3 separate regions of the Homo sapiens genome follow, and all the other regions are linked to region 3. The links are contacts of gene promoters, found by promoter capture Hi-C in human tissues and cell types (Jung and others, 2019). All regions are on one chromosome and are shown on one strand. The core of a region is centred on a gene start or on the middle of the fragment in contact, and the rest is flanking DNA. Distances in the headings are between cores, read along the strand shown. Region 1 overlaps ASMER1 (adipocyte associated metabolic related lncRNA 1). Region 2 overlaps LOC105377134 (a long non-coding RNA gene). Region 3 holds the start of HSPA13 (heat shock protein family A (Hsp70) member 13).

The links. The method cuts DNA at HindIII sites, captures the fragments that hold promoters and counts their contacts. A contact is called where the count stands out against the background at its distance.
Region 1: a contact is called between a fragment that was not itself captured here and the fragment with the promoter of HSPA13 in region 3, in 1 of the 25 tissues and cell types used here (lymphoblastoid cells).
Region 2: a fragment that was not itself captured here is called in contact with the fragment with the promoter of HSPA13 in region 3 in 1 of the 25 tissues and cell types used here (IMR-90 fibroblasts).

The regions. Positions count from the first base shown.
Region 1 is chr21:14,855,606-14,858,305 of GRCh38, forward strand. It overlaps ASMER1 (adipocyte associated metabolic related lncRNA 1), which reads right to left. Exons shown (of 4, transcript NR_146322.1): 2 at 1,937-2,103. Among named protein-coding and RNA genes, the nearest start is that of ASMER1, 62 kb to the right of the region's middle. The HindIII fragment of the contact is 4,082 bases long and covers 1-2,700 here.
Region 2 is chr21:14,035,788-14,038,487 of GRCh38, forward strand. All of the region lies in intron 1 of LOC105377134 (a long non-coding RNA gene), which reads left to right. Among named protein-coding and RNA genes, the nearest start is that of LIPI, 170 kb to the right of the region's middle. The HindIII fragment of the contact is 6,023 bases long and covers 1-2,700 here.
Region 3 is chr21:14,381,775-14,384,474 of GRCh38, forward strand. HSPA13 (heat shock protein family A (Hsp70) member 13) reads right to left here and starts at 1,372. Exons shown (of 5, transcript NM_006948.5): 1 at 1,321-1,372. The coding sequence starts at 1,345. LOC105369304 (a long non-coding RNA gene) reads left to right here and starts at 992. Exons shown (of 2, transcript XR_007067924.1): 1 at 992-2,700. RefSeq lists enhancers at 1,079-1,388, 1,779-1,908. The HindIII fragment of the contact is 8,875 bases long and covers 319-2,700 here.

The DNA.
Region 1 (2,700 bases), core at 43-2,542, 470 kb after region 3:
TTTGGGGTAATTTATTACATAGCAGCATATAATTAAGACACTAGACATTTTGTTTCTTCGGGATTTTTGTTTTTGTTTTTCTTTATTTTTTATGTTGTTCCAACATGTTTGCTTTTTCCTCTTTTAATAGGTTCAAGAATAGTGAGAAAAAGGAAAATTAAAGTGTTGGAGTAAATGGTTTTGGCAATAATAAAATGTAGATTCAATTTTTTTGATATTTAAGAATGAAATTTTGTAAGAGATATTTATTTTTAAAGGGAGCTGCTCTAGAATCTAGACATTAATATGTCCCCAAAATGTGTTTACAGATTTCTCCATTCACACACACAAAATCTAATTTCTACCTTAGTTTACAGAAATCCACCCTTTGTGTAAGGTGAGTTATACCTAACAGAAGTTTATCACTTTCTTATTAAAGAACTCTATGTCTTTGGTCTCTTCTTCCTAATGAATATCAACATTTGAGGAGAAAGATATATAATCAGGAGGGAAAAGTGATCTGAAATAAAGACTTGAATATTGTTATTAGATTTAGACTATGTTAAGATGAATTGCTCTCTCATGGAAAGACTCAATAACTTATGCCTAAGAATAATATAATAATCACAACGATAGCCATATTGTTGTTTTGAATTTGGGTAACAGAAGAACATAGATCTTTAAACTATTAGGCATATCTTTTCTGCTCAAAACAATTTCTTTACATTTTATCCCTTTAAGTCCTTTAAAGCTTATCACACAGAAAAAATAACAGTCTGGGAGAGGAAGACTAAAGAAATCAACTTTCTTCAGAGCACATATAGATTTATTGTAGCCAATTGATGACACTGCAAAACTGGCACAAAGGCAAATACTTAATAAATAAATGAAAATCAGAGTGGATCAGTTCAGTGCTGTATGTTTTGAACCGGGTCCTCAAAGGCAAGTCATCATCAGAAGAAAGAAAAATGCATTTAAGGAGCGTTAATTATTGTCTATCTCCAAGACCAAAATAAAAAAAGCTTAAAACTTTTAGACTGTTAAAAATCTACTATACTAGGATATTAAAGTATTTTAAAGAAAATGAGATTTATGCTTAATAAAAAAATTCCCATTAAACAGCAAACTATTAGAAGAGAAAATCATTCTGAATCTCTACACTTCTCAATCCAAATACAATGCCATGAGCTATAATTCAGTAAAAAGCTCTATATTTTGGATCCTGAAGCTTGACTCATAATTGAAAGGAAACCCTCCTAATTCATGATTGCTTGTCTCACGTACATTACAGAGTAACCTTTACTGTAGTTTCAAAGTTTAAGATTTTATTTACAGTAGTTTTTGCGAGGTCGTCAATTGACACAATGTAGTTGCTATTTGTGAAAGACAACAATTTGAACTGCAACTTGAAATCAATTGGAAACCAGTCCAGTCTCTAGAGGACACTTGCAATATGCTTCACGGGGCTAACCCCATTAAGCATCAAATGCAGCTACAAACTCAGCACACTAAATGAAGCTTTTCTATTGCACAAGAGAATAACTTCACATGAATGACAATTTCTGTAATGCTTAGGCTTGACAAAATCTTTAACCTTAAGTGTAATACTAATCAAAATAATTCCAGGAAATATTGTTTACACATTATCATCTGGAACTAGCTGGTAAGGATTGAGAAGTTTGTCAATAATTAGGTGCTCTGACTTTTATATAACTTATAAGTAGAGTTGTCAACTCTAAAATCTGGGGAGTTTGGTAGCTCTGTTAAGTTGGGGAAAATGTAGATCCCCAGCCTCAGTATTCTCATCTCTAATATGGGAATTCTGGAACAAATGATCCTGTATCGATACACTATTGCTGTACAACAAATTAAGCTTAATGGATGAAGATAACCACTTATTATTTTGTTTCAACTCAGGGACTGGCTCAGCAGCTCTGCTGCTCTGGGCCATGCTCACCTGCTCTCAGCTGGGCTCACTCATGCATCTGCTATCAGCTGGCTGGTTAACTGTAGTTAGTTCATCTTGATGGCATCATTGGGGAAACTCAGCTCTCTTTCACTGGACTTCTCTTATATTTCTCCAGCAAACTGGAAAGGGTGTGTTCTCGTGGCAGGGGCAGGAGTCTACAAAAGAAAGCAGAAATGCAGAAACACATTTCAGGCTTCTGCTTGCATCAGTTCCACTAAAATCCCATTGTTCTCGTCATGTAGCCAACTTAGAATAAGAATGGGGAGGTCACTACCAAAGGGCATGAAATAGAAAGGCATGAGGCATGGAAAATTAGATCCATTAGTATAATCACCTTACAATAATCTTAAAGTTGCTTTTCTGCAGATAATTGTTTGAGTATAGGTTTTTTAAAAGAGGCATCCAACACAAAATACTGGAAAATATACTGTGAGTGAGGAGGGAATATAAGAGAAAGAAAATCAACTACCTCTTCTCTGCCAATAAGTCTTTGTGTAATTAGATATGAAAGGCCCACACTTGAAAAAAGATCAGATATATTTTAATTAAAAGTGAGTACCTTACAACTGACTGATCTACTTTTCATGCATTTTTCTCTTAACATTTTTCTGTCAAAGTTTTTCAAAATATAATAACCAAACAAGGAAAATACAACAGATAACTATGTTTGATGAATGCCTGATTACATACATTCATTTTCACTTCTCATTCTCATTCGAGTAAGAGCAAAAGAAACATGAATGGGGAGAAAA
Region 2 (2,700 bases), core at 70-2,569, 350 kb before region 3:
TCGTCTATCCATTCATTACACTGTAAAAAATGAATTAAATCCTTTATTATACAAGCATCTTAGACAGAAATCAAATGTAATTCATCGCACATGCTGTCAGCTAATTAAAGTATTTGTACCACAGATTCCTCAGCCTTTTATATAAACTTGGAGGAGCACTGGGGTCTTATTCCAGGAGAAAAGCAAATGAATCTGCATTTTCCTCTTATTTAATTTATGCCACAATAACAGTAGCTTCAGTGCAGAGCTGCAGCTTCAAGCTTTACATTTACCCTGGAAGGTAAATGTGCACCTTCCGAAAACTGCCTGCAAGTAAAAAGAAGGAAATTACACGTTAAAAAATTTTTAAATTGGGAAGAACTGGTTTTTCCTCCTCCTGCTACATTCAGAGTTCTGTCTTAAGTATCATTCCCCCTCACCTTGCTATTTACTTTTCTCCTGATCTCAGCCCAGTGGGAACTGAGATACTGGAGAAAGTCTATTTTTTCCCTAGTTTTACAGTGTGACAGAAGAAAGTTTAAGTGATAGGCAAATGAAGGAAATGCAAGTCCTCAATATTCAGAACTAATTTACCAGGTTCTTGGCATGCTGAGAAACTCACTAGGTTTGTGGTCTTTTTGTGAATAAGAGCACATTTTCACCTAGGACTGGCAGGTGGTCACAGCTCAGCTAAAGAGAGTCCCATTAGACAGCTCATTCTGCTGTCATGTAACTAAGTGATTTTTTTCCCTGAAAGTTTATGTACTATATTCTATATAGAACACTATATAGAACATTTGCGCCTCATGCAGGGAACTGTTATTGTGGCATAAATTAAATTTAGCATTTTGACTTAAAAATTATTGGGCAAGTACTGTGTGCAGGATGCTCCTAAGTAATTGGCAGTGGCTATAAATACTTTAAGCAATTTTTCCAACCCTATGCTGGGAAGAATTCCTGCCACAACATATCATAAAGGTAGTAAGGGCAGTAAAGAGCCCTAGAAGCTCAGTGTTGAAAGAAACATCTACCGGTTATCTAGTGCAGCTACCTTCTGATGCTTAAATTCGCTTCTGCAATAGAAGGGTTGAATGCTAGTTTAGTCTCTGCTTGACTGTCTGTGGGGACAGGGAGCTCTCCACTTGATGAAAGATCTTTAGACCTCTGAGACACCTTAGTATGTTTGTGTTCTCACCCCCTTATTTCATGGTATATCCTTTGGTTTAACATAACAAGTCGATTCCCTCTCCCACATTAGGTCCTTTTACATACTTTAAGATACTTATTTTTAATTTTCATGACATTTCTCTTATAGCTTAAAAATCCCAGGCTATTTATTATTATTATATTATTTTTCTCATATATAACATGGCTTCCAAGTCTTAACTTACCTGGTCATTTTTCACTAGATGCTAAGTTGTCTCTTTTCATCTTAAAGAGAGATTCTTAACACAGCATCATTCTCAGGCATGGCCAGACCTGTAGGGAAGAAGGTAGAACTTACTCTTTATCCCACTTTAAATATTCTGCTTTTATAAATAGAGCCCCCATTTTTATTAATTATTGAATCTGGTTGGATTGCCACATAATGTCTTTTCATACTGCTTTGCAATACTTCAGACATACTTGTATGGAATCTGAACATTAATGTTTCCCATCAGGATGAAAGAATAAAGGGACTAAGATAGTACACTCTTGAATTACAAGCTAAGTCTTTGTATTAGTCTTTTTTCATGCTGCTAATAAAGACATACCCGAGACTGGGAAGAAAAATAGGTTGAATGGATTCACAGTTTCACATGCTGGGGAGGCCTCACAATCACGGCAGAAGGCAAAAGGCACTTCTCACATGGCAGAGGCAAGAGAGAATGAGAGAGAAGCAAAAGTGGAAACCCCTTATAAAACCATCAGATTTTGTGAGACTGATTCACTACCACGAGAACAGTATGCGGGAAGTCGCCCCGGTGATTCAGTTATCTCCCACAACACGTGGGAACTATGGAAGTACAATTCAAGATGAGATTTGGGTGGGGACACAGAGCCAAATCATATCAGTCTTAATTTGAATCTGAAGCTTGCCCAGCATTTTCTCACGTCACCTTAATTTGCAAAAGTGGAGCTTGGGTGAAATGAGGAATGAAAGTAAGAGAGAAAGAGAAGGAGGTCATATTGAGTGTAAAAAATGTGGCAATATAATACAGGAGAAAAAATGTTTGCTGTGGAATATTAGGGGAAAAATAACACAACAAATGAGTTCTAGTCCGTGAGCTCTCATTTGTCAACCCTGTTGATTTTGGGAAACATAGATAAGTTATCTGATCTTTAATTTTGTGATTTTTGAAGTGAAAAACACTATAATATTGCATAAATATAATGGAAATAATCAAATGAGATATTAGGTGAAAGCATTTATCTTATATTCATGTGTAATGCACACGTTCTTTCTTCCTTTCTCATCCTTGCAGTCGCATTCTCTTCCTTTTACGTCTTTCATTCCATTTAGGTGTCAAAACCACAAGTCTGGGAAAGGAATAATATGTAAGAGCAAAGATGCCTACTAGGTGGGCACATAGAGAGCTCCTGGTGGGACAGGGACTGCAAGAGAAGAGCCACTGCTTGGAGAGATTTCTCAAAAACTCTGCCTTATGTAAATGAATTTCAACAGCAAAGTGATGACATATCCACACATTTAAATAAAATCCTTCCCCTTTCCCTGGCAGT
Region 3 (2,700 bases), core at 122-2,621:
TAACTGTATGTTTGTGTCATTCTCTAATAAATGTAATAAAATGTAAAAATATTTCAATAATATTTGTGCAGATGCTGACAAGAAACAACATTTATCTGGAGCAAAAGCCAGATATAATCTAATATTCTTGATCAATTGATATTTAGATTTTACAGCTTTATAAAAAGCTTCGATTATCTTTTTTTAAAAGCTCCATTATTAAAATTCTCACAAGAAAAACTTTATTATTTTATAAGTCTAAAATTCTCTCCTCGTATCTCACCTCCTTTTCCCTTTCAAAAGGATGAAATGAATAAATGGGATAAAATGATTTTGAAAGTTCCTTAGATATGAAACTGTCACTTCAAAACAGAACACAGTTAACTTTTTATGTATTTAAGTATGAACTAGGGACTTCCTTCTTGCAGTGGTAATATTTAGGGGAGAAGAAGCATAAAGGTGGGCAACCCTGACGGCAACATCTATGAAAGCTTCTTGAAGACAAGTTTCGTTCACTGTTGTATCCCCCAGACCAGGAATAGCAGATGCCCAACAAATACTAATTTAAAAAAAAAAGAAAAAAGAGTAGGAACAAATGCCACGCAGATTGTAAACATAAGCGAAGAAAGATGCCCCTTTAGTTTTTAATGAATCTCGTATTTGGTATCAGGAGGCTGTGTTATACACCTGTGTCCGCTCATATTACATATGACCCAAAACATGAATTTTCAGGGCTCTGTGTTACTAATTGTTAGCTCATCCTCATCAACACATAACTCAAAGAAATAAAACCAAGTGCGAATCCCACTTTCCACTTCCAGCTACAGGCAACATTTCAGAAGCATTTCATCACCTTGGAGACGCGGGGTGGGTGTGTGTGTGGGTGGGGGATAGGTAATTCCAAACCCGATGTGATGGAAAAAGCCTCCAAATTCAGCATCCCTGAGCCGACAGATCCGGATGTAGCTCCTCCCCCTTCCTCCACAAAGGGGTCCTGGAGGTGCACGTTCTCGCAGCCTTCCATAGCTTGCCCCAATTCAACAGGCAATTCAAAAACCTAGGTGCTGTTGAAAGGAACGCCTCCCTAAGCCTGATGTCCCTGGGATGGACACAGCTGGTCGCCGTCTATCCTACCTTGGCCTGCAGGGGCCGGGGCCCTCCTAGAGGCGTCCCCGCCCCCATCCACTCCGAACAGCCGAAAACCGTCTCTAAGTCACCTTTCTGACTCCCCTTCCGCTGCTCCAGCTAGATCCAGGAGGTGAGTCAACCACCCCTGCCCACTCTGGCATCCTCAGATCGCCTCTACGCCCGCAAGAGCAACAAGGACCCCCGGGAACCCACCTAAGATCGTCATCTCTCTGGCCATCACAGTCCCGCCGAACAGGCTTGTGATGACTGTACCAGACGTGAGGCACCGCCCCCACTCCTCCCGGCAGTCCCGCAGCCCCCTGGGAAATGTAGTCCGCTTGCTCTGAGGCAATCGGAGAAGCTATCGCTCTGACCAAAGCAAGGACTTCATCTACCGTGAGGGCGCGGGGCAAAGAGCCTCCATTCAACCGCTGCCAGTGACGACTGAGTCCCCCTTCCACGCAACGGCCGGCAGGACCAGTGAGACTGAGGGGGAGGAGCGCCGTGGCGAGAGACTGGCGTTTATAATCAAACCTGTGGTCCCGCGATCCTACTTGAGGGAAAACAGGCTATCTCTTTAGCCCCGCCCCGCGCTTTGCATTCTGGGAAGCGGAGTTCCAGCCTTTCTCTTTCCGCGGGAGGGAATGAAAGGGAGGGTGAGAACCGTTAGTTATTTCTTTCTTTGGTCGTGCCCCTAATCAGGTCCAGGATTCGAGTTTGTGTTCTTTCGTTTTAATTCCTTTTAAAGCGCGTTCGTTTGCCTGAGATCTAGCTTCTAGATGGCGTTCCTATAGCCTCCCGGAGCCCCAGCCATCCTCCGTAGAAGGGTCCCTGCCGCAGTGCGGGGCCTGAGGGAAGTCGGCTCTGGCGTCCGTGCTCCAACGCTGGGAGCAGCCCTGAAACTCCAGTGACCCTCAGCCGTCTGCCTTTGTTTTGGGATAAATGAATTCAAGCATTCTTCAGTCAATTCGATTTATCCAAGGGATCAGGGACACATTTTCTCTATTGCTAGCACTGACGTGGGCCATTAAAAACAAAAACAAAAACGAAATTAAAAAGAAAACCCTTAGCTCTCTCTTCAAGTAAGTCTTAAGTGGCCAAAATTGACCTTATGGGCAAGTCCTGTAACGTGACAGCCATTTTAGGACGCTTGTGACATGCTGTTCAGGTTCTAGTCTGAAGTAGGATTTTTCTCGCATCTTGGTCACTGGTAGCACTTAATGACTCCTCTGAGAGTGGTTTTGTCATTTTTGCTGTTAGAGTTCACGATAACTAAGATCCTGGAGAATTGAATCCATTTTCTCAGCTTAGATATAAATCAAACCATCCCTGTTGACAACACGTCAGCCTGCTGTGGGAATACATTGCTGGTTATTTCTGACTTATCAATGTGAATTTTGATTATGGAAGCTGAATTCTGGTTGATAGGGATCCATTGTAATGTTCTCTCTACTTTTGCGCATTTTTAAGTATTTCATAATGCGAAATATAAAAAGTGTGTGTCTATAGTGAGTGCTGTTCAATAAGATTCTTATAAGGAGTGAAGAATTCAAGCACTTAGTTCTTAAGTATTACTTGTAATGGGCAGTGGGC